4 separate regions of the Homo sapiens genome follow, and all the other regions are linked to region 4. The links are contacts of gene promoters, found by promoter capture Hi-C in human tissues and cell types (Jung and others, 2019). All regions are on one chromosome and are shown on one strand. The core of a region is centred on a gene start or on the middle of the fragment in contact, and the rest is flanking DNA. Distances in the headings are between cores, read along the strand shown. Region 1 overlaps HECW1 (HECT, C2 and WW domain containing E3 ubiquitin protein ligase 1). Region 2 overlaps HECW1 (HECT, C2 and WW domain containing E3 ubiquitin protein ligase 1). Region 3 overlaps HECW1 (HECT, C2 and WW domain containing E3 ubiquitin protein ligase 1). Region 4 holds the start of BLVRA (biliverdin reductase A).

Region 1 (6,424 bases), core at 3,724-6,223, 460 kb after region 4:
TTGTAATCACGTGGCCCTAGTTACGGGCTATGTCAAGCATAGATTTTAGTTGACGCTTGAAAAAATGGGTCTGATAAGTGAGCCTCTGAGAGCAATTTAAATACACTGTACAAAGTGCCCTGCTATGGGAGTAAAAACCATCTGCTGGTTTTTTTGTTTTTGGTTTTTTTTCCTATTTGTAGCAGAAGAGCCACCAATGTTTTGTTTATTTGTTTTGCTTTCCAACTTAAATGACATCGTAATTGTTGAAATGTTTTGAATTAAGTGATGTGCTCTTTGTTGTTTTTCTTTTTTTCTTAATCTTGGAATAGGCCTTGTGGGTTTAATATGTTTTAAGATAGTCTCATGGAGTATAGCACATTAACAAAAACAAAACCTGTAAAAAAACAGAATCTTAAAAGCAGAAAATCATCACTTCTAGGGATGGAACATGTTATTATGCATGGATTTTTTTTTTAAGAACCTGGAGACAAAAGATTCTGCTCTGTCAGTTTTTATCTAACTAAGTCATTAATAGCATTTCTGTCTTGGAATATAAAGCCGTGAGTGAGTGCCATCTCAGAAATGAAAAGAAAGCAGACAAAGGCATGTCTATAATAGAGAAAATGACTCTTAAAAATGGCCTCTACACCAAGGAATCAAAAATTGTAAGCGAAATACACAGCCCTTGAAGGAAGCTTCATTAAAGTATATAAGATGAGGTTATAGAAACTGGCATTACTTAGTTGGAAGAAAGAACGTAATACTTTTTTAGTCCATGAGCAGATTTTACTTTGATCAAGAAGATGCCTGCAGCTTTTGCTATCCTACACTCGGCTTTGTTACGCCACCAGGTGGGTAATGGGATTTAAAAAAAAAAAAAATCAAAGCTTATCTTTTTCTACAAAGGATTTGAGAAAATTTACAAACCAAGAAATGTATAATAAAATAGGAAAATACAAAACAGACAGAAATCAGGAAGTAGCAATATGAAGGAAGACAAAAATAGTTCTGAGCATTTGCTCTATGCAGCGGACTGTTGTACATCTCATTAAAACATTATCAAGGCCAGACATGGTGGCTTATGCCTGTAATCCCAGCACTTTGGGAGGCTGAGGTGGGTGGATTACCTGAAGTCAGTAGTTCAAGACCAGCTTGGGCAACATGGCGAAACCTCGTCTCTACTACAAATACACAAAATTAGGCTGGGCAGGGTGGCTCACACCTGTAATGCTGGCACTTTGGGAGGCTGAGGTGGGCGGATCATCTGAGGTTGGGAGTTCGAGACCAGCTTGACCAACATGGAGAAACCCCGTCTCTACTAAAAATACAAAATTAGCCAGGCGTGGTGGCACATGCCTGTAATCCCAGCTACTTGGGAGGCTGAGGCAGGAGAATCACTTGAACCCAGGAGGCAGAGGTTGCAGTGAGCCGAGATCGTGCCATTGAACTCCAGCCTGGGCAACAAGAGCGAAACTCCGTCTCAAAAAAAAAAAATTAGCTGGGCGTGGTGACGGGCGCCTGTAATCGCAGCTGCTGAAGCTGTGGCAGGGAGAATCGCTTGAACCCGGGAGGTGGAGGTTGCAGTGAGCCGAGATCATGCACTGTACTCTGTGACAGAATGAGACTCTGTCCCCCCCAAACAACAAACAACAACAACAACAACAACAACAACAAAACACTATCCAGTTTCACTATTCTCAGGTTGCTAGAAAACCCAGCTCAGAATGTTAATAAAAATTCTGAGGTCATCCATCGTGTGGCAGGAAATGGGGATTTGAGCCTGTTTATGGGCGATTATAAGAGGGCACTTTTATCATTCTTAAGCATTCTCTCCAAATTATAAAACAGATGGACAGAATTGCAGTAATTGAGATTCAGATACTTCTCTGAGCTTCTCGGCAGCCAAGAAGATAAAAGGAAAGCTTAGTTCTTATGATCAGAATACAGGGACTTTTTTCTTCCTCCAAGTTCTTAACGAAATGTTTCATCTTAGACTTTCTGTAGGAAACACAATGAAATGTGGTGAGTAAGATCTTAAGAGACTTTTAATCACGATTATAGTGGCAGATTCCTGGTACAAGGCTTTGACAAAAGCCAAGGTCATCGCAGGAAGAGAGTTCATTAGGGACTGAGCGACTGTGCTGTGTTGCCTTCCGACCACATTCCAAAGTCTACCTGGCTCAGTCACTTCTAGGGGAAGCTTTACCCCAAAGCTTCCACTCTGAACTCAGTGACTGTTCTCAGTCCCGCAGCTTCCTCTCTGGCCTCAATGGAGATTTCGATCAGAGCCTGAATGAGATGTTCTGTCTAAAACTGCCTTACCTGTCAACTTATTTTTTGTCAGTCCCCTCTACTTAGAAGGCAGGCACCAAGACAGCAGCCCAGCCTAGCTCCTTTAGGTCTGCATTTCCAGCAAAAGTAGTGCCTGGCAAGAACATAGATGATGCTCAGTAAATACTTTGTTGAGGCTGGGTGCTATGGCTCACGCCTGTAATCCCAACACTTTGGGAGGCCAAGGCGGGCATATCACCTGAGGCCAGGAGTTTGAGACCAGCCTGGCTAACATGGTGAAACCCCGTCTCTACTAAAAATACAAAAAAATTAGCCATGTGTGGTGACACGTGTCTGTAATCCCAGCTATCCCAGGAGGCTGAATCAGGAGAATCGCTTGAACCAGGGAGGTGGAGGCTGCAGTGAGCTAAGATTGCGCCACTGCACTCCAGCCTGGGTGACAGAGTGAGACTCCATATCGATAAATAAATAAATAAATAAATAAATAAATAAATAAATAAATAAATAACTGTGTTGAATGAATGAATGCACTTGTGGGTAACGTGTGGGCTGGGGTGCACCTGGACATGGGGCTCTGCTCCTTGAGCTCAGGAATTCTTGTAAGCACTAGGCTTGGTGCCCAGAATTGCTCGAATTGAGTTCCTGGTTCCTGGACTGCACTGGGATGGGTCAGGTGTCCGGATGCAGGACCAGCAGAAGCACCGGGAATCCCTGAGGCAGTACAGGAGAAGTGGGGATGGCCTGGGTTGGAGGGTTTGGAGACAGGCCAGGGCAGCTTTATCCAGAGCTCTACTTGCTGCTGGGCCCTGCTGGTCCTAACAGTCTAAAAGCAGAAACCTCCTACCCAACCCAATGGCAGGCACAAGAGATCACAAAAATCACTGCAGCCCACGCATTTCCTCTGAGTCACGACTGTTAAGGGAAACAATTCGTTAGGCTAAAAAGAAGGGCTCCACCTCTCTGGGAATTGCCTTCATCACCTGTCAAATAAGAAGAAAGTGTTGGGATGAGATTAAATACTGCCCCTGGGTCCTCCTCTCCCTCTCACATCCTGAGATTTGAGTCCTGCTTACCCATTTGTACCTCTGCTTGGGAACTGCTGTGTATGAGGGATGTTGTGGGACAGGGGCGGGTGTAGGGGCTCTCAGGTGTAAGGGAGGAGAGTGGGAGGTGGCTGCTAAACCACCATCTCTGTCTAACTCTTCAGCTCCCAGACACCTGTTCCTGAAACCTGTGCCTCAATTTGTGCTTTCAGCCTCAAAGCCATGTGCTAAAAAAGCTTTCTTTTGTGCTGGCCATTGTGTGGAAGAATATCACAGAATTACATAAACTAAATTGTGTGGGCTTCTTTTCTTTGAAAAAGAAATAAAATCCCACTCATTGCTGGCTGAAAGGGAACATTAGGGGGAGAAAATTTTAATAAGCAAATCAAGCCAAGCCAGATAATATCCACACAGGAAGTCATGATTTAAAATACAAGGAACTTGTTAAAATGCCAGTCAGACACATTATTTTAGGAACACATAATGCCTTATCGCTCATAAAAAAAAATCCACCAATAAGTGTAAGGTTGAACATCCCCTCCCACTTTTGACTCTGCAGCCCTTTGATGGCAGGTGTTGGGGGGCGGGGGGTGGGGTGGTCTTTGCTCCTTGTCGCTCGCACACCATTCTCACTCACACGTAAGAGAAACCAGCTGGAGGCCAGGCTCCAGGAGGGGCATGATTGGACCATTCACTGCTTTGCTCAAGTCTAGGACTGCTTGGTGCAGCTCTGGGTTATTTGGGAGGTTTATGTTTGGAGGCGTTCAGCAGCGAAGTTGCTGAAATCTGGGTGGTTTGTATGGGCAGAGGAATGGGCAGGGGGCTGTGGGTGTGGGAGAGGGAGGAAGGTGGCAGCCAGGAGGGCCTCGTCAGGTTAGCTGGGGCAAATTCCTGTTCATAATATTTAGCACCTCCTCTGGTTTACACAGAAAGGAAAGGTGAGAACTGGTATTCCTGTGTGTGTGTGTGCGCGCATGTGTGTGTGCACGTGTGTGGGTGTGTGTGGTGTGTGTGTAAGACACAGAGACAGAATGAATGGGAACTTACAGATGTGAGAAAGAGACCCATTTTTCCCTTCTCAATGTTAGGAAATACTGTTTCTTCCTCAGGAAGGCACTAGCCTGATTGAAAGTGGAAAAGTTTCCTCTTTACCTACTGATACCTGCAGAGGAAAAGGATATGTGTTCACCTCCCAGAACCACAGTGCGGCTCCAGGGGCCCAAGGCGCCCAGCTCCAGGAGCCCTGCGGACCATACAGGAGAGAAAGGGAGGTGGAGCTGCTGTGAGCCAGCCACATCATCCTCCCGGGGCGGCCCCGTACCGGGCATTTGTGAGGAGCCCCCATGATGACCTCAGCCTCACTCCATCCTGAGCCCAGCAGGGCTTGTGCTGTGCTGAGTGGGGTCACTGTGCCTCTTCCCGTAACCAGGGCACCACCACCTGCTTGGCTACAGTCCAGTCTCCAAAAGCCAACCCACAATACTGTGAATCACACAGGAACCCACAGTGACAGTCATGGGAGGGTTCTGGGCCAGCCCCTCCTCTTATTCACCGGGAAGCTGAAGCCTGAGAAGGGCAGCTGCCTGCCCTGACCACGCAGCAGGGGAGCAGCAGGGCCCCAAGTGGACCTTGAGACTCCCTGCGGCCAGTTAGCTGCCTCATCCATGGCCTGAGCTGCCTGGCTTGGGAGGGAGCCTCAGGCTTGTTGAGAAGCCTGAGGAGCCTCAGGCTGTTGTAAGCCAGTGTGTTTCCCTCCTCCATTCATGGTCGTGTCCTCATTTGCCTGCTATTAGGTGATGGGGCCAGACAGGGATTACAGTTCTAAGAAATACACTTAGGAGGGTTTCAGATGCAGTGCTGAGTTTGTATCCTCATTGAAATTAATACTCAAAAGCATGTTATCATTTGTCATGGAGGATCAAGGTGCTGTAAAGATGCTCTCTTTTAAATTCTTATATCCCCTGGGTGGTTTGACCCAGCATCTTTGGGTTTATTTTTAAGTAAATCCTGTCTTTGGTTTTATTCTCCTGCTTCTTTTTTTTTTTTTTTTGACAGAGTTTCCACTCTTGTTGCCTAGGCTGGAAGGAAATGGTGCGATCCCAGCTCACTGTAACCTCTGCCTCCCGGGTTCAAGAGATTCTCCTGCTTCAGCCTCCCGAGTAGCTGGGATTACAGGTGCGTGCCACCGTACCTGGCTAATTGTTTTGTATTTTTAGTAGAGAAGGGGTTTCACCATGTTGGCCAGGCTGGTCTTGAACTCCTGACCTCAAGTGATCCACCTTGACCTCCCAAAGAGCTGGAATTACAGGCGTGAGCCACTGCATCTGGCTTCTTCTTCCTTCCTTTAGCCCAGTCAATCAGGAAATGTGGATGGAGTCTTTAGTGTGTACCAGGCCTTGTGCTAAATGCTGAGTATGGATACAGAGAGGACTTAAACAGTGCTCATAGCCTCGGAGAGTTTGGTGCAGGAGGCAGACATTTAAGCAGTCAACTATGACACAATGGTGAGGGCAATAATGGGGTGGTGGGCATGGTCCCCCCTAGAAGGGAGAGAGATGCTGGGACCACCTTCCCAGATGGGAGGACATGGAAGCTGGACCTGGAAGGAAGGGGCAAGAGCTGAGGGAAATCCAATCTAAGCAGAAGGAACTTCTCGTGGAAAAGCGTATCTTTACTAGAAGCATGCTGAGCTTCCAGATTCAGCAGAGCTCCTCTTAGCTGTCTGCCAGACAGTGTTGGGGGCAGCTGGAAGTGTGTGAAAGGGGTCTCCCATGGCACACCAAGAAATAAGACCTTCTCCATTGGAGAGTGGGGGGCCACGGAGGTTTTGTTCACCTTAGAAACTTCACACTGCAGCAATGAGGGGGAGAGCAAGGTGGACAGAGCTGCTGTGTCTTGGGGAGCCCAAGTATAGCTCTCCTGAATGCCAAGGTCTACATGCAGGGAGAAGCTTTACCAATCAAGTGGTCCCTCAAGTCTAAACAAGTGGCACCGTGGCAGAAGTTACTGACAAAGTAGCAGGGGCGGCTCCTGGGCGGGTGCAGGGACAGTGTGCAGCTCTCACATCAGTGTGGGAGGTCATCGTACCTGCTTTTCCAGATCACCCA
Region 2 (5,848 bases), core at 437-2,936, 260 kb after region 4:
CTTGAACTCCTGGGCTCAAGAGATTCGCCTGCCTCAGCCTCCCAAAGTGCTGGGATTACAGGCTTTAGCCACTGAGCCTGGCCCAAAAGATGAATGAAAAAAAAAATCTATTTTCCAAAATACTGCAGGTACAACTTTTTCCTCTCTTTGATTATATTAATATAAATCCAAATCTTCATCATAACTTAGAGATTTTCAGGCAAAAAATATAGTCAATTTGACCTTTTGGTATGGAGATCTTTTTTTTTAAGGCAAGGGAAGATTTTGAGCCTCTACAAAGATAGACAGAATGGGATTAAACAGGGAAATGCACTCTGATCCAACTTCAGTGCGGGTGAAGCACCGTTGCAGGAAATGGCATCACCAGAACCTGGGGGGTGTTCACAGTGGCTTCTTTGACTGGGTTGAAAAAGGGAGCAGCAGTGTCCACATGTCATTTAGCAGGGAACATGTGAAAGCCCAGCAAAGAGAACAGAACATCCCCATCTCTCTCATCACCTTCTTCTCCCTCTGCCTATGTCCTCAACCCCAGCCCTGGGCTTTCTCCTCCAAATCCTGACACCACCTCACAGCCCCGTTATTTGGAAGATGCTCTTGAATCTTCTCTAATTTAATGATTTTGGCCTTATGAATGACCTCAAATCTATATGCTCTCCCAATGATAATGTACCCTTGGGCAGGTTATCCTCCTGCCCCAAGGGATCAACATCTGGTTAAGCCACTGGCCTCCCTCCCTGCGGGAAAAAGAAGCCCAGAGAGGGCCATCTCCACTAGGGCAGCAAAGTGCAGTCCCCAGTTTAGAAAGTGCCACCCAGCACAGTGGTTCTATCGTGGCACCACCATATGGACCACATCCAGGTGTCTGAATGCTAAGCCCGATTTTCTGAGAGTTTTGGTGGCTCTCCACCAGACATTATATCCTCTGTCATGTCTGGCAACATGTCATGCATAGCCAGTGGTGTAAGGGACCTCCAGATGCCCCTGGGACTCCATCCCAAAGTGCACTGAGAACTGAGGAAGCCATCTAAGGGCAAGAATGCCAGCTGTCTCTCCTACATATATCCCTTGACCATCGGGAGAACTCCAGAGCACACTTTCCCTAGAGTTCAGGACAGGACAGGCGACTGCCTCCTTGACATCTTGACATTTGAAGCCGCTTGTGGCTTCAAAGACCTCAAAACTCAATATCCAAAATAAAATCCTTGACATTCTTCCTCTCCTCAAGCCAGTTCCTCCTCCACTCTTTCCCATCTCAGTAAATGATGCCATTATCCATTCACCTGCACAAGCCCCACACTTGGCTGTCATTCTTAATTACTCTCTTCTCCTCACCCACCATGTTCAAGCTGTCATCAGCTCCTGTTGTTTTTGCATCCACAGTATCACCCCAAACTGCTCCCTTCTCTTCATCCATATTTTCCCATTATCCACACGACCATCATCATGGATGAATATAATAGTCTCCTGCATAGCCCCTGTTCCATCTTATGCCCCTCCCCAGCCTATCTTTTCCCCACAGAGCTGCCTAAACATTGCATCTGTGTTTTTAACGACCACAGCTGCAATCATATTTCATTGGTGGTCATGAAAAACAGATGAAATATGATTGCATCTGTGGTCACTAAAAACACAGATGCAATCATATTTCTTTCCAGCTGAAAACTTCTCAATCACTTCTCAAATAGAATCGCAATTCAAATAAAATGTTTCCGGTTGGTGATAGGGCCTCCCTCTCCAACTTCACCATGGTAGGTCTCACCTACCCTCCCAATCTACTCCTGGGCCACACTAGCTTTCTTTCATTTTTCACCTACATCTAAGCTTTTCCTGCCTCAGGGCCATTGCATACTCTCTCCCTGATCTCCACTTTGCATCTCAAGGGACAATGCCTTCTCATCCTTCAGGTTTCAGCTTAAGCATCACCTACCTGGAAAAGCCTTCCCTGTGTTCTGTTTAGGATGTAAGTCCTCTTCCTCTGCACCAGCATATTATCCACTATTGCTGAATTCTAATCATGTTCTTCATGGCACTTAACATATTATGCAGCTGTATATGGCTTAAAAAAACAAACCCCAAGCTTGTCTATTATCTGTCTCCCTCAGTAGATTGTAAATTCATTGAGAATTTACAGGTCTGTTTCGCTTGCTACTGCATACATAGCCCTGGGACAATCCTGATTCAGATGAGTGACACAATCAAAGCACTAGTTGAAGGACCACCTCCATGCCCCTTGAAGATAACAGATGCCATTAACCTCTGGGTTTTCTGGCTCCATCCCCTTCTCTACATGTGGCTTCCTGCTTTTCACCGCAAGTCACTGCTGTCAACTGGACAGTTTTCTACATACTCAAACCCAGCAACTGGCTTTGCAGACCCAAGACAGAGACTCCATGACTCCCTGAGAATAGCAATGGCTGAACAGGGGTCACCATCTGCTCTTGGGGACCACAGAGGAAGCCATGAGTTCTTCTGGGTGGGGTCCTGAGGAGAGTGGTATTCTCTTCAACTCCTGAACCTTCAAAGTGGATCTGACTCACCCTGACATGGCACTCAGGGGCAGGTGGATGCCTCCTCATGGAAAGCAGGGCCTGGCTTCCTGCATCTCTTAAGCTTGACCTCCTGAAGAACAAGTTCTTGCTCTTTGCTTTCTGCTGTTTTAGTTCTATCATCACATAGTCCAGTTTCTGATAGTCATCGTGAGCCTTCTGTTTTTGATGAAATATTTGGGTTCTCAACCTGGGTCCACAGTTTCCTTAGGGTCCATTAACTATTTGAAATTATATTCAGAGGTTTATATTTATATGTGGAGGAGAGTCCATAAGTGCTTCCATCAGCATCTCAAAGGAGTCCATAACCTTAAAATAGGTTATTAGTTTCCATACTAGATAATTTCCAAGTTTTTTTTCCAATTCCAACGTGGCCTGATTTCAAGTTCCCCCAGCTCTGCAAAATCATAATTGTACAATCCCATATTGCAACAAAACATTTAAAGTTTCTTGGATTGTTGTAATGTGATATATAATAGGGATGAAAACAGTCTACTGCCTTTTGGAAATACATTCCACTCACTTATGTAGGGAATTACTTAAAAAAAAACCTTTTCTAATGATTAAAATGAGACTTTTGTGTCTTTGGTGAGTTGAAATTCTTCCACAAAGCAAGCAGTGAACTCACTACTTAATGGTAGAATCAGTAACGTAAAGAATGTTCAAGAACAACCACGCGTCAAAAACCCTTAAGATAATACAACATCCCTGGAAATCCCTTGAAAATTCCCTTGGGTTGTTAGGTGAGTCAAAGAGCAGCCCATGAATGAATGACCCAGGTGGCTGAATATGACTCTGCCTTCTGCAGCAGTGCAGTAATGAAACCAGGGGAGAGAATTCTTAAGAGTTGAACATAAATGAAAGTGGCCATTCATCACGCTAAAGATCACTTGTTCATGCTAAAGATCTTTCATTCACTCTAAAAGTAATTGGTGTTTCCTATTTTCAAAGTAGAGGACCAGGTTGTAAGGGGCAGAGTGGGCACAAAGACAAGGAAGAGAAAGGCCTTGCTCTAAAGAGCTTAGAGTGCTGTAGGGAGACACAAGTAAATGACAGAATACAAGAGATCTAAAAATATCTTCGAGGCACAAAAAGCATACTATCAAAGCAAGACAAAAGAAATACTAGGAAACCATCATTCTCAGCAAACTAACATAAGAACAGAAAACCAAACACTACATGTTCTCACTCATAAGTGGGAACTGAACAACGAGAACACATGGACACAGGGAGCGGAACATCACACACCGGGGCCTGTTGGGGAATGGGGGCTAGGGGAGGGATAGCATTAGGAGAAATACCTAATGTAGATGACGGGTTGATGGGTGCAGCAAACCACCATGGTGCATGTATACCTGTGTAACAATCCTGCACTTTCTGCACATTTATCCCAGAACTTAGAAGTATAATAAAAAAAATTAAAAACAAACAAACAAAAAAACAAATGCCATGGTAACATCAGGAAGTTCCCACCCCCTCAAAGAAAAAGAAATACTAAAGCTTGCCTAGATCACTGAAGTTTTGCTTTTGATCTGAGCCTTTAAAACGGGATGAGATGTCCTTAATAGGGAAGTCATTCCCGGAAAGACAAAGGCAGGAGAGTACGCAGCCTGTGTGGTGGAGGTGGAATACCCTGGAAGGAAAAGCTTAGTGCAGGATGGAGAGTTAGGTTAGGGCCAGACTTTGAGACCATGGACATTATGCTTAGAAATCTTGACTTTAGGCTGGGTGAGGTGGCTAACACCTGTAAGCCCAGTACTTTGGGAGGCTGAGATGGGTGGATCCCTTGAGGTCAGGAGTTTGAGACCAGCCTGACCAACATGGTGAAACTCCACCTCTAATAAATGCACAAAAATTAGCAAAATTTTGCTGGGTGTGGTGGCACATGCCTGTAGTCCCAGTTACTTGTCAGGTTGAGGCTCAGGAATTGCTTGAACCTGGGAGGCAGATGTTGCAGTGAGCTGAGATTGTACCATCTCACTTCAGCCCAGGCAACAGAGCAAGACTCTGTCTCAAAAAAAAAAAAAAATCTTGACTTTATTTCATATGTGATGGAAACCATGAAAGCTTTTTTGAAGGGTAGGGAGGTCATGATTTAATCTATGCTTTACGTAGGTAACTCTGGTTATGATAGGGTGATAGGGAATATTTTAGGAGAAACCCCTGTATGGTCCAGAAGAGAGATGATGAGCACCTAAACTTGAACCATGGCAGGGAGAAGAGAAAATGAGGATGGAGGAGAGAGTATGAGGAGGTGAATGTTTAGGTGTGGAGGTGGAAGAAGAGGGAGGAGAGGAGATCAGGGACAGCTGGGAGGGTAGTGGCTCTAATTTACAGAGTGAAAATACAGGGAAAAGAGGTGTCAATGAGGGGGTGTTGGAGGGGAAAGAATAGTGAATGATCCATTCTGGCGGGAGTGGCAAGGGTTGAAAAGCAGAGACTACTTGAAGCTGTCAGTGATTCCCCGAGGAAGTCGGAGTATGGTATTGCAGGTATCAGCCCCATTCACAAGACTGCACCACATGGGCAGGGAATAATGAAATGCAGCCGTTGATGGGATTCTAGCCTGCCCTGCCTTAACCTTTACACATCCTCAAGTAAGTATTGCAACCATGCCCACTTTGTGACCCCCATTTGGGAGACTAAGGGCAGAGAGTTGAATAACACGCCTCCATCAATAGTCCCTACCTGTTGGAGTGAAAATTCAAACGTCAAAGAGATGTACTCTTAACCCCCATGCCTCTCCAGATTTTGGAACGTTGGAGAGTAAACCGAAGGAAAAAGATGTTTGAATATTTTGGTGAGAAAGCAGGATTTAAGTTCAGGGAATATTTTCTCTTTTTATCATTTCAGATCGCTATCCCTTCCACATGTGATTCAGAGTTTCAGGGCACTTGTTCAAAAATGACCCTAATGAAGCATAAGATGTAAGTAGTTAGAACACACAAGAAACTTTTTGTTTGCTTTTTTATTTTCGAACACGGCTGCTCAATATTTGGTTTACCGTTCAACAATTATATTTCAAAACTAAAAGTAATTTATACAGTGCTGTACATAAATAATTTTTTAATGGAAGCTATTTTGTTTCCTTTCTGTCCTTCCCCCCCCTACATCAATGGAAATCATTTCAGTACCATATAAATGATATGTAATCTGATAATATGACCATCTCTGATTATGCCATTTCCCAGAATACAGGAACCCCGAACCCTTCATCTTGAGGATTCAAGTTCTCATTTAAATGCACAAATACAATGTATAATAAGCTTCCGCTCTGTCTCCACAGAGGTGTTTTCCCACCG
Region 3 (6,505 bases), core at 2,619-5,118, 350 kb after region 4:
CTAAAAACCAAACACCGCATATTCTCACTCATAGGTGGGAATTGAACATTGAGATCACATGGACACAGGAAGGGGAATATCATACTCTGGGGACTGTGGTGGGGTGGGGGGAGGGGGGAGGGATAGCATTGGGAGATATACCTAATGCTAGATGACGAGTTAGTGGGTGCAGCGCACCAGCATGGCACATGTATACATATGTAACTAACCTGCACAAGGTGCACATGTACCCTAAAACTTAAAGTATAATAATTAAAATAAATAAATAAATAAATAAATAAATAAATAAAAGAAATGAAAAGCATTAGAAATAGGAAATGTATGGGGAGGCATTAAGGACTATATTTTTTTCCTAGTTTCTTTAAAATACACATCCACTTAAAGCAAAAATTTTTAACATCGTCATGTAGGGTTTATAATGTATATACAATGTGATATATATAATAACTATAACAAGAAAGATCACGAGTGTGGATAAATGCAGGTAATATTGTTGAAGAGTTACTGCATTTTATGTAAAGTGGTACAAAATTAACTCAATGTAGATCATGAAAATATAGGAAGGTATTTTATGGTCCCTAAAGCAACTACAAAGGAAGTAACGCAAAGCCGTGTACCTAAAAATTCAGTAGATAAATTGAAATGAAATTCTAAAATATATTCAAATAATCCAAAAACAAGTCAAGAAGGGGAAATAAGAAAACAATCCAGAGGACAAACAGAAAACAAATAATAAAATAGTAGGCCTAAATACAATTACATGAATAAATATGTTAAATGGTAATGGGCCATTCATTCCTATTAAAAGGCAGAGATTATTGTAATAAATGAAATTAAGTCCGAAGAATATGCTGTCCATAGGCAATGCACTTTATAAGTAAAAACACAAACATTTTGAAAGTAAATGGAACAAACACTAAACATAAGGGAGGCTGGAGTGGCTATATTAGTGTGATAAAACAGCCTTCAAGACAAGGAGCACTACCAAAAATAAAGAAAAATATTTTAGAATTATAAACATGATGCATAGACATAACTATGCAAGTACCTAATACCAGAGCTTCAAAATACATGAAACAAAAGTTGACAGAATTAGAGAAACAGACAATTCCATGAACATAGTAAAGGATTTAAACATGCTTCTTGTGGCAACTGATAGAACAGCTAGACATAGAAAGCAATAAAGACACAGAGAATCTCTACAACTCAGTCAACCACCTTGACTCAACTGATATTTATAGGACTTGATATGCCACAATAGGAGAATATACATTCTTTTCAAGTTGATATGGTAAGCCTACCAAAATGCATCATATGCTGGACTGTAAAACATGGCTTGATAAATTTAAATAGATTGCAATCATATAGAGTATGTTCTCTAACCACAATAAAATAAAATTAAAAGTCAGTAACAAGAAGATATTTAGGAAAATCCCCAGGTTTGGAAATTAAACAACTTATTTCAAAATAATCCATGGGTCAAAGAAGGAATATGAAGAAATATTTTTGACGGAATGATAATAAAAGTATAAATTATATACAAATTTATAAAATGCAGTTAAAACAGAGATTAGAAGAAAACTTATTGCTTAAATAATTGTATTAGAGAATAAATGTAAGTCTAAAAGCAAGACCTAGACTTTTACCCTAAGGAGCTAAAAAAAAAAAAATAGAAGGCAATAAAGGAGATAAATAAATGAAAATAAGGGCATATATAAAAATAAATAGAAAACAGTTAAACATAGAGAAAATGATGTCAAGAGCTAGTTCTTTCACAAAATAAACAAATTTAATAAACCCATATTTAGATTGGTTAACAAACAAAGAGAAAAAAAGCAATTCACCAATATATAAATGAAAGAGGTATTGTCCTTAATAAGCCTACAAACATTAAAAGACAATAAAACAATACTTTGAACAACTTTATGCCAAACAACACAAAAAGATGGCAATATTTCTTGAAAGACAAATGCTTTCTCTTAGAAGAAATAGGTAATCTAAATGACTCTTTTTATTTAAAAGACTAAATTCATAATTTAAAGTCTTCTCACAGAGAAACTCCAGCCTAAGATGTTTTCACTGGTAAATTATATCAAACATTTAAGGAAGAAATAATAATTATACACAGACATTTCCAGAAAATATGAGGAGGAAAACTTCCTGTTGTGGACTGAAACCTGTTATAGACTGAATGTGTGTGTGTGTGTGTCTCCTTCCACCACCAACCCCCAAGTTCATATGTGAAACTCTAACACCCAAAGTGATGGTATTAAGAGGCCGGGCCTTTGGAGGTCATTACGTTTAGAGGAGTCATGAGGATAGGGTCCTCACGATGGGATTAGTGTCCTTATAAGAGTGTGCTCTCTTTCCTTTTCTCTCTTTCTAACGTGTGGATGGAGCAAGAAGGCAGCCATCTGCATCCCCAAAGAGGCCCTCACCAGAACCCAACCGTGCCAGCATCCTGGGCTCGGACTTCCCAGCTTCGGAACTTTGAGAAATACATATCTGTTGTTTAAGCCACCCAGTCATTTTCTCCCAGGAAGAAAATGCAAAGTCTTGCAAGGAGAAGGCTTTTTTGGCCTGTTGCTTTCTTCCTGCCTGGAATTTGGACTTGAGGCTTTAACAGAGGAGGATGAGGCCATCTGCTAAGGATGGTGCAGTGGCAGGCCCGGAGAGCTGGGATCCCTGGGGGCTCACTCAGCAGCGGCACCGCCTGGATCACCTCCCTCTGGATGTCTTGTTTGTGAGAAATATCAGAGCCAGCCAGACTTTCCCTTGCATGGAGCCAAATACATCCTTAACTGACATAATGGTAAGCAATGCCTGATCAAAGAAGGCTTTGAATGCTCTGCAGAGGAGCTATGACATTGACACTTGGACCCTGGGAACTGTAGTACAATTTAGGGGTTGAATGGACAGTTTTGCAGCAACACAAACCTTGGTTCAAATCTCCTTTAGCCAGTTACACACTGTTTAACTTGGGACATCAGTTATCCTCAGCCTGAGCCTTACCAGGGGGACATGAGATGAGGCATATTTTAGATCAATAACTCCAACTGCAGCACGTGGGATGGAAGGGAGGTGGCCCAGAGCAGAGGGCTGGGGAGAGTTTGCCAGTATTCTGCCAGAACAAAATCAGTGTTAACCAAAGCTTCAGAAATCATTTCAGAACTTAAAGTGAATTCTAGTTGACGTTTTTAGCCAAAAAACATTCTGATAGTGCTGGATTTTCCAAACATTCCCTGACACTTAAAACACCTTTATGACTAAATGTCTTAGAACAGGTTCCTCTAAAGTCCTTCAGAAGAGAGAAGCCTTTCCCCCCATACAAAATAAATTCTTTTGACATCTTTTATTATCTCTAGGAATGCAGGGAAGAGTTCAGAAATAATTGATGAACACAGGCAGGACTGAAGAAACAAATTAAGATTCATTATTCCATTCTAGCGGTGCTATCAGTGTTTTAGAATCTGTTGATAACCAACGCTAGGAGGAAGTTTAAGTACAAGTCTATTTCCCTCACGTCCACTTCAAAGCTCTAACGAAGCTCTTCTGGGAAGCCTGGGAGAGCGCTAATTAAGCCCAGGAAGGGGGTGGTATGATTTAATAGATAATAAAAAATCTTTGCTCTCATATGTCTAATTATGTTTTCTTGTCAAGGATGCTTGAAAGCTCTAAATCAGAGATGATCTACTCTGAAAAATAAAGGAAGAAATCCTCTCCAAAGCAAGTTCCTTTGGTGGGAGCACGTTTCCATCAATAATAGGCTGATGAGGGTAATCTAAGGCTCAGGTGGAGGATAACTGATCTCTCAAATTTATAAACTATTAACTGGCCACACTGGGATTAGAATCCAGGTTTCTATGACTGTAAAACTGTACTTTTAACCTACATTATACCCCATCCACTCTCATGACCTAGGCCTCCCCTCCCCTCAGTCACATGGTTTGGAGGTTATAGCTTCAAGCTCAGGTCTGGCAGGGAGGCAGCCAAATGGGTGGTGATGACTTTCTTTTTTCTTTCTTTTTTAGAGACAGGGTCTCGCTCTGTCACCCAGGTTGGAGTGCAGTGGCATGATCCCAGCTCACTACAACCTCTGCCTGTCAGGCTCAAGAAGTCCTCCCACATCAGCCTCTCCAGTAGCTGGGACCACAGGCACACACCGCCAGGCTCAGCTAATTTTTTTTTTTTTTTTGGTGGAGATGGGGTTTTGCCATATTGCCCAGGCTGGTCTTGAACTTCTGGAGTCAAGCGATTCACCTGCCCTAGCCTCCCTAAGAGCTACCTTGCCTGGCCAAATAAGTGGTGCCGACTTTCTACATGTCCTTTAGGAGAGAACTTGGAGGACCCTCCTAACCCCTGGCAAAGGCAACACTTTCAGGAGTGGAGAAGGGCCTTTGTAGACAACATAGACTATTCAATACTGTAGCAAGCTGCCCAGCCCTTTGCAAATCATGAAGATAGGATAAACCATTAGGCTTCATTATCTATTTAAATCAAACAATATTTAACCCAACCAGGGATATTTTAGGGCTTACTGATTCACCTATCCCAGGAACCTCCCAGTTTTAGAATCTCTGAAACTGGTCTAGAAGGCTATATTTAAGATTTGACACCCTTGCTCAAGGATCACATGCATGGGAAGAGCTGTGGAGAAACTGGAAGGCTCTGATCACAACTCTTGTCTTCCTTCTCCCACATGAAGGGCAGAGGGAAAGGCCGTCCTGCTCGCGGCATGGGTTCTGAATCAGAAGAGGCTACTGCATGCAGTGCAATGAAAAGTGTGTTAGTACTGTCCGGATGGACTTGATCAAGATCCCTGAGTTGCAACCCCTGGAGAACATGGCTCCCTTCTAAGACCATGACAGCCATAGATTGAGCAGCAGAGTCCAGGGCTCCATGAATGGAGGGAAGGAGGAGGGCTGGTTCACAGTCAGCCCTTTCACTTTTACTTGGGCTTTTTTTCAGGGCCCACAGCACTCACCTCGGCCTGCCAGATGGGGTTCACGGTGTTGCCTATGATCTTGGATCTCCTCTCCTGTCCATGGTGAGGGAGGGCGGGGAAGATGCTGTGTTTCCCAGGCTGAATGGAAATCTTCAGATAAGGGTCTGGGTTGAAAAACATCCCTTTCTTCAACCCCATGGCTTGGAAATCTATAAAATAAAGGATACTTTAATTTAAATATGTTTTAGGGAGGTTAACGACTGGCATTTGGTAACCACACCTTTCATGAGAGGACCATTGGCCCTTATGAACTAGATCTCTAGTGTTACTCAGGCAGGTAAACAGGCTGGGGTGAAGGAGTGAGGGTCACCCCAGGAAACGTGGGTAGCACAGGGAGAGAAAGTCCAACTTTGGAAATTTGATGGGTCCGGGTGTAAAATTCCTCTGCAAGGTGGAGACATTAAAAAAATAGGGGTTGTAGTCTCACGATATATGTGGGCCTCACTGAGTAAGGTGAGAGAATTGGCAGAAATAAAGAGAAAGGAGAGGATTAAAAGAGCACAGAGCGTGGACAATGGAGGAAAGAACAAACAAGACCTGGCCTCCACGGGGCTGAGTGCAGTCAATGAGGAGAGTTCTGAGAAACCCTGCTGCCAGGGAGGGCAGGGCTTTGAAAATCGAGCTGTTCTGTTTAATTGAAGATATCTGACCATGTACAATTTCATGCTGCACAAGGAGAGAGAGACAGAAAGAGTGTGTGTGCACAAGGTCATTTAAGGCAACAGTTTATAGTTGGATAATGTGAAATCACATTATATTTATTAGAAATATATTGATGATGTCAAGGAATATAATTTTTTTTGAGATGGAGTCACCCAGGCTGAAGTGCAGTGGTGGGATCTTGGCTCACTGCAAACTCTGCCTCCTGGGTTCAAGCATTTCTTCCTGCCTCAGCCTCTCGAGTAGCTGGGATTACAAGTGCCTATCACCATGCCTGGAGAATTTTTGTATTTTTAGTAGAGACAGATTTTCGCTGTGTTGGCTAGGCTGGTTTTGAACTCCTGACCTCAGGTGATCCGCCCGCCTCGGCCTCCCAAAGTGTTGGGATTACAGGTGTGAGCCACTGTGCCCAGCCAAGGAATATAATTTTTAAAGCTTTTCTATTATTGAAGTATTTTTCAAACAAAATTATTTACATTTATACACAAGTGAAACAAATGGAGGTAAAGATACACAGGATCAGGGATTCCCAGTCATGGTTTAAGTTGTGAGGGGTTTCAATAATTTGTTACTGACGAAAAAGCACAGTTGTTTTCATATGCACTTATTTAAAAGTTATTTTGAGTTGATCCAAGGTTATCCCCTTAATAAAATTATTCCTACTCTCTGGCATGATAATGTATTACTGCTCTGTGAAAGGGCTGTATATTCAAAATGACCACCAAATGCCAAAGGAGTTGAGAAACCAAAGAAGGAGGCAGACAAATCCAGTTTGTCGGTAAAAGGAGTTTTATTAGGGAACTCACAGATAAGCATGGTCTTGGGCTGTAGGAGACTGGT
Region 4 (6,141 bases), core at 3,480-5,979:
CTCTTAGCATCCAGCTGGGTTTAGCCAGTGGAGGAGATCGGCAGGCAAGAAACAGAAAGAGAGAGGCTAGGGTACTTGTGCTCCCCCTGCCTGGTTCCTCAGGCTGCTGCTCTGGCAGTGGCTGCATTCTGTGATGGCCACAGCAGGTCTGGAAGGGAGTGGCTCCTCCAGCAGTATTCCAGCCCCCTCCTCCCAGCTCTGGTCCCCTCCCTACCCCTTCAAACCAGAGAGGGGATGGTGCCCACTGAAGCTCTTCCCTGTGTGCCTCACCATCACTTGTTGGCTCCTCCAATCCTGCCCACTCTTCTATAAAAAGTCTCCTTAAAATTCCTTTCATTTTTATGCTTTTCACTGTTGGGATTCCCAACTGATAAACTTGGCAGTATATCAGTTTGCAGCATCCCTGGCCTTTCCCCACTAGATGCCAGTGGCACATACCGTTTTCCCCCCAGCACGACAATCAGAAATGTCAGTAACAACTACTGGGTTAAGGGCCGGGCACGGTGGCTCATGCCTGTAATCCCAGCACTTTGGGAGGCCGAGGCGGGCATGGGGCTGATCATGAGGTCAAGAGATCGAGACCATCCTGGCCAACATGGTGAAACCCCATGTCTACTAAAAATACAAAAATTACCTGGGTATGGTGGCGTGCACCTGTAGTCCCAGCTACTCGGGAGGCTGAGGCAGGAGAATTGCTCGAACCTGGGAGGCGGAGGTTGCAATGAGCCGAGACCGTCCCACTGCACTCCAGCCTGGGTGACAGAGCAAGACTCCATCTTAAAAAAAAAAAAAAAAAAAAAAAGGAACTACTGGGTTCATGGAAATCACTAAATTATTGCTGACAAAGCTCTAGAGTTTCACATTCCAATTTGCACGTGGGAGAGATGCAAAATCTCACAGTAAATTAATAGCACAGCCAGGACTAAACAGCTTCCTTGGCTTACATTATGTTTCCCTTTTGATTTCAGTCTCTTTCCCACATGCAAATTGGAATCTGAAACTCCAGAGCTTTGTCAGCAATAAATTAGTGATTTTCATTAACCCAGTATTTCTCACCAACATTTCTGATTGTTGTACTCGGGGGGAAAAGGGTATGTGCCATTGGCATCTAGTAGGGAAAGGCCAGGGATGCTGCAAAACATCCTGTGATGCACAGGACACCTTCCTACCCCAACTACACATACACAAAGAATTATCCAGCCCAAAATGTCAACAGTGCCAGAGTTGAAAAAGCCTGGATTACACATCATGCAGAATGAACTACAGCTGTGACCTTCCTCCTTGTTCCTCCTCAAACGCCCTCTCAAGTATCTATTATTGCCCCAAAGCCAGGTGACTCACAGAAGTATGGGGAAGGATTAGGGAGAGGGTGACCCTCTCAGGTGGGGCCAGCTGCCAGCCTCAGAGGTCTAAGGGTAAAGGTAAAAGCAACTCTTGCCCTGGAGGGAGTTGGATACTTTGGGATCTATTGAGAAAAATATAATAGCTACATGGGACACAAGTCTGGAAATATATACATCAAAATATTACCAGTAATTATGTCTCTAAGTGGTGAAACTTTTAGTGACTACTTTCTTTTTGCTTCTCTGTACACTTTAAACTTTTCTATAAAGATTAGTTAACATAATTATTCAAAACTCTAAAAAACATTACAAACTATGCCACTTTCACTGACTGCATCCCTCCTAGCCCCAAACTGAACAGACTTTCACAGGGCAATAACATATCAAGGTGCTCTGATAATGAAGTCCACAGAAAATTTTCCCTATAACTGAGAATCAGGAAAGGCTCTGCTTCCTTCAAGGCCATTAACATTTGGGGGATCAATGAATGAATGAATGAATGAAGTTGCCATGTATGTTTTACTTTCAAAAGACAAGAACCATGTAACTGACCAAGTTTACCTTTCTAGAAACAAATTTGGGACTCAACTACAAAAATATAGGCCTGCAATGACCTATAAGGGAGCCGCTACACAGAGTGGCTATTGGAATATAAATTAATTAAATATAGCACATTTTCATAATCACAGAAAATTCTATTGGATAACACTGAAACACTTCATTCTTTTTTTCCCCTGGAATAGTTTCTTGTACTTATACTTTCTCTCATCTCAATTCCTGGCCATATTTATCTTCTATTTATTTGTTACTATTCTGTGATTTTGTTGCAAATGACCTTAATTCCTTTGTGGATCAATTTGGGGCATTGTACTTTGGAAATATCAGTGTGTATATATGTCACTGTTCCTGAGAGTTCAACCTTCATTTCTGACCATAAGGCAGATCTAGCAGCTCATGTAATGTAGCTATTTCCTCACAGCTCAAAGACGGAAGAGAGGCCGGGTGAAATGGCTCACGCCTGTAATCCCAGCACTTTGGGGAGGCCATGGTGGGTGGATTACTTGAGGTCAGGAGTTCGAGACCAACCTAGCCAACATGGCAAAACCCTGTCTCTACTAAAAGTATAAAAATTAGCTGGTCATGGTGGTGCGTGCCTGTAATCCCAGCTACTTAGGAAGCTGAGGAATGAGAATCACTTGAACCCAGGGGGCGGAGGTTGCAGTGAGCCAAGATGGCGCCACTGCACTCCAGCCTGGGCGACACAGTGAGACTCCATCTCAAAAAAAAAAAAAAAAGACTCAAGAGGACATTGTCAGGAACTAAGCTCCCCTGTCACAAAGGCACTATATTCAGTGTTTTTTTTTTTAAATACACAAAAAGGTATACACTGTCCATTAATGGAAAGTTTCACTATTTGATTAAAGCTTAATTTGAAGCTGAGTAATGCAATGTCTTTTTCAAATTCCAAAATACATGGCTATCAACTTATTTCTAAAATCTTAAATATATGATTTACCACAAAAAACAAATGGCCCAACCTGTTACTACTGATAAATATATGATCATGTCATCAGAGTCCTGGATACGCCAAAGAGAATCAGAAATGAAAATGCGCGCAGCTCCTGCACAGTGGGATTCCCTGTCAGCCCACGGTTCTGATGGAGTGTCGCCTCTACATAGAAGTCAGTGCAATTTTGAGTATTTTACCAGATTTTCAGTTCTAGAAAAAATGACTGGGAGTAATAAGCAGTGTAGATCAAAAACTAAATACAATTATAACAAAGATGAAAATTAATAGATGTGGCCCAAAGTGGCAAATCTTTGACTTTAATCACATGCTAACTGGATAGGCAGGGGGTACAAAGAATAAAAAAGTAAAGATCGGCCGGGCGCGGTGACTCATGCCACGCCTGTTATAATCCCAGCACTTTGGGAGGCCGAGGCGGGTGGATCACCTGAGGTCAGAAGAATTGCTTGAACCCAGCAGGTGGAAGTTGCAGTGAGCCGAGATCGCGCCACTGTACTCCAGCCTGGTGACAGGGCGAGGCTCTGTCTCAAAAAAAAAAAAAAAAAAAAATTACATATGAAATGTGGGAAAACACACTGAGAATTATTCCTAAAAAAGTTGAAGTATAATTAGAGACCCTATTGTAATTTTTAGCTCTCTGGCTACAGAATTTCCCTTCTGATACTTTGTCTAACATTTGACTTGTTTTTCTGGAATGCATCCCGTTAAGGGAAGGATGAGCATATTTATCAATACAATCTTTTAGGAAATAATTAGGAATATACCAATACCTTTATTTCCATAATTTTAATATCTTCTTGGGAATCGTACTATAGAAATTACATTAATGATGGAAAAACTTTCAGCACAGTATTGCTTCCTTTGTAGGTGGTGATGATGACAGCTAACATTTACTGAATCCTTCCCATGCTGAAAACCCTATTGTAAGCTATTTATGTTCGCTAAGTCACTTATTCTTCAGGGCTATCCTACTAAGTAAGCATTATGATTACCCCCACTTTTACAGGTGAGAAAATCGAGGCAACAAGAGGTTGGTTAACGTGCCCAAGATCAGATCGCACAGCGGTATAATAGGATGGAAAACTCCTATCACATAATGAACGTTAAGTGAAAAAAATTAGTATCCAAAACTGTAAGTCTGATGTCTCATTCTTTTTATAATTTAAGTAGTTTATAAATACCCTCATTATTAGCCATATTTCTGAGCACTTCATATGTAGAGTGCACTTTACAGAACACTGTCATGTAACCCTCACACCGTCTACGAAATAAGTGATAGTTTCCAGTTTCCAAAAACGAAAGCGGGGCTAGGAGAGGCCAAGTGCCTCGCGTGGCGCCTCAGGATTCGCCCCAGCGGAGCAGACCCCAGGGCATCCCAGGCGGGTCCCGGCCGAGCTAGCGGCCCTGCGGTGGCTACGCCCGGGCCCAGCCGCTCGCGCTCCTGGAGCCGCCGGACTACGCGGCACGCGGACGCCGAGCCTGCCCTCTTGGGTCTACATAAAAACCGAAACTACGGGCAGTCTTAACCGAAATGGAGACTTAATTTTTTAGACTGTCTTTTGTGTAGTTGAGAAAGCCCCTTGCCGGGACCCGCGCTGCTGGGCCTCCGACCGCGTCCTCACTCCGGGCCCGGGCGGGGCGGGGCGGGGCAGGCGGCGCCCAGGCTGCGTCCCGGCTCTGGCGGCCGCGGGCCCGGGCCTCCTGCGGGCCTGGGGCTTCGAGCTCAGGCCCTAGCGCTCTATGGAAGCCGCGCGCGACCCCCGCTCCCCTGCGCGCGACCCCCGTTCCCCGCGCGCGCCTCACCTGACGCGGGCACCGCTCTCCGTGCAGCCTCCGGGCGCCACCGGCTTTGCGGACCGGGGCGGGATCCCAGCTCCGATTGGCTGCCCGGCTGGGGGGCGGGGGCCCCGAAGCGGGGTGGCGGAGACCGGGAGGGGACCGGAGGCGGTGGGGAAGGGAGTGGACGGAAGGGGAGGGAGGGTCCCGGCCTCGTGCGGTCGCGCGTGAGATCCTGGCCTCTGTGCCCTGGGTCTGGCGCCTGGGGCCGTAAGAACCGTCCGTGCGCCTGCCCTGTTCTCTGCACCCAGCTTGGTGGCGAGGGGTGGGTGGTGGGTGCCGGCCGACCGGAGGGCGTATGGAAGTGGCTGGGCCCCCTCACGGTGTGCCTGGCCCCCTCACGGTGTGCCTGGCCCCGGCGTGGGGGGGGCAGGCCCGGGGGGTGTCGCATCTCTCTTATCCGCCCCCCACTCACCACGTAGAACCCACTGGATCCCATTGGTATTTAGTGGCCCCGGGCCGACTGAACTGGCGCCGAGGCTTACCTGAGTCCTTCCTGTAAATGTGAGGAGCGGAGGGAATATTCCAGGAGGCCGGTGTCTGCGATGTCCTGCTCTTGGGTAGCTAGGAAGTAGTGAACGTGGTCTAGGGAACTGCCTGGGCTCTTATCCACCTGGGAATGGGTTTGTTGGGGATCCTGATGTGGGAGAAGCCAGGGAGCTTCTAGCCTAGTGGGGCTAGGGGAGAAAACAGGGAGAGGGGTGGATTAGGCTGAAGGAAAGAGATCTCTGATCTTAAAGGCAGCGTTCTGACGGGTAAGGTTGACTGGCATTTTCCCCAACAAAGAGTTCTAGTACCGTATTCCATGACCTGACAAGCCTGTTTAAGTGAGGTTTTGTTGAGTGCAAAGAGAGAAGGCTTGGCTTTGAATTTTTATCTCCAGGCGGGACCTGCCTCCTGAACTCCATACTCCTCTATCCAGCTGCCTCCTTAATACCTCCTCTTGGATCTCTAAAATACATTTCAATCTCAACACATCCAAATCTGTGCCCCTGATCTCTTCCCCATAGCATCACCATCTCGATGGCAACTCCATCTTCCAGTTGTCAAGGCCAGAAACCTTGCTGTTTCAGAAACCTTTCTCTCACATCCCACCTCCAGGGCCCAAAAATTCTGTTGGTTGGATCTCCCTAGCATACCCAGAGCCTGACCACTTCTTACCTCTGCCTCCATCATCTGCTACCTGGGTCATGACAGTGGTCTCTTCCCTGATATCCCTGCAGCCTGTCCCCATAAAGCAGCCAGAGTGACCTTAAAAAAAGAAAGCCAGATCAAATTCCTCCTCTGCCCAAAACCTTCCCAGTGGTTTCCCAAACTCAGAGTAAAACCCAAAGCCCTGCCTGATCTGCTCCTCTGTTACCCCTACAACCTCATCTGCTACTGCCTCCCCACTGGCTCACTCTGCTCCAGTCACTCTGGCCTCCCTGCTATTTC

The links. The method cuts DNA at HindIII sites, captures the fragments that hold promoters and counts their contacts. A contact is called where the count stands out against the background at its distance.
Region 1: a fragment that was not itself captured here is called in contact with the fragment with the promoter of BLVRA in region 4 in 2 of the 25 tissues and cell types used here (IMR-90 fibroblasts and mesendoderm cells).
Region 2: a contact is called between a fragment that was not itself captured here and the fragment with the promoter of BLVRA in region 4, in 1 of the 25 tissues and cell types used here (H1 embryonic stem cells).
Region 3: a fragment that was not itself captured here is called in contact with the fragment with the promoter of BLVRA in region 4 in 1 of the 25 tissues and cell types used here (mesendoderm cells).

The regions. Positions count from the first base shown.
Region 1 is chr7:43,300,818-43,307,241 of GRCh38, reverse strand. The region is part of intron 3 of HECW1 (HECT, C2 and WW domain containing E3 ubiquitin protein ligase 1); the gene reads right to left. Among named protein-coding and RNA genes, the nearest start is that of MIR3943, 150 kb to the right of the region's middle. RefSeq lists an enhancer at 2,516-3,016. The HindIII fragment of the contact is 4,198 bases long and covers 2,875-6,424 here.
Region 2 is chr7:43,493,234-43,499,081 of GRCh38, reverse strand. All of the region lies in intron 19 of HECW1 (HECT, C2 and WW domain containing E3 ubiquitin protein ligase 1), which reads right to left. Among named protein-coding and RNA genes, the nearest start is that of LUARIS, 26 kb to the left of the region's middle. The HindIII fragment of the contact is 3,285 bases long and covers 44-3,328 here.
Region 3 is chr7:43,406,211-43,412,715 of GRCh38, reverse strand. It overlaps HECW1 (HECT, C2 and WW domain containing E3 ubiquitin protein ligase 1), which reads right to left. Exons shown (of 30, transcript NM_015052.5): 8 at 4,985-5,154. Among named protein-coding and RNA genes, the nearest start is that of LUARIS, 110 kb to the left of the region's middle. The HindIII fragment of the contact is 6,695 bases long and covers 521-6,505 here.
Region 4 is chr7:43,757,268-43,763,408 of GRCh38, reverse strand. BLVRA (biliverdin reductase A) reads right to left here and starts at 4,729. Exons shown (of 8, transcript NM_000712.4): 1 at 4,675-4,729. It also overlaps the pseudogene LOC107986727. RefSeq lists silencers at 4,305-4,624, 4,635-5,024 and a cis regulatory region at 6,046-6,141. The HindIII fragment of the contact is 11,547 bases long and covers 833-6,141 here.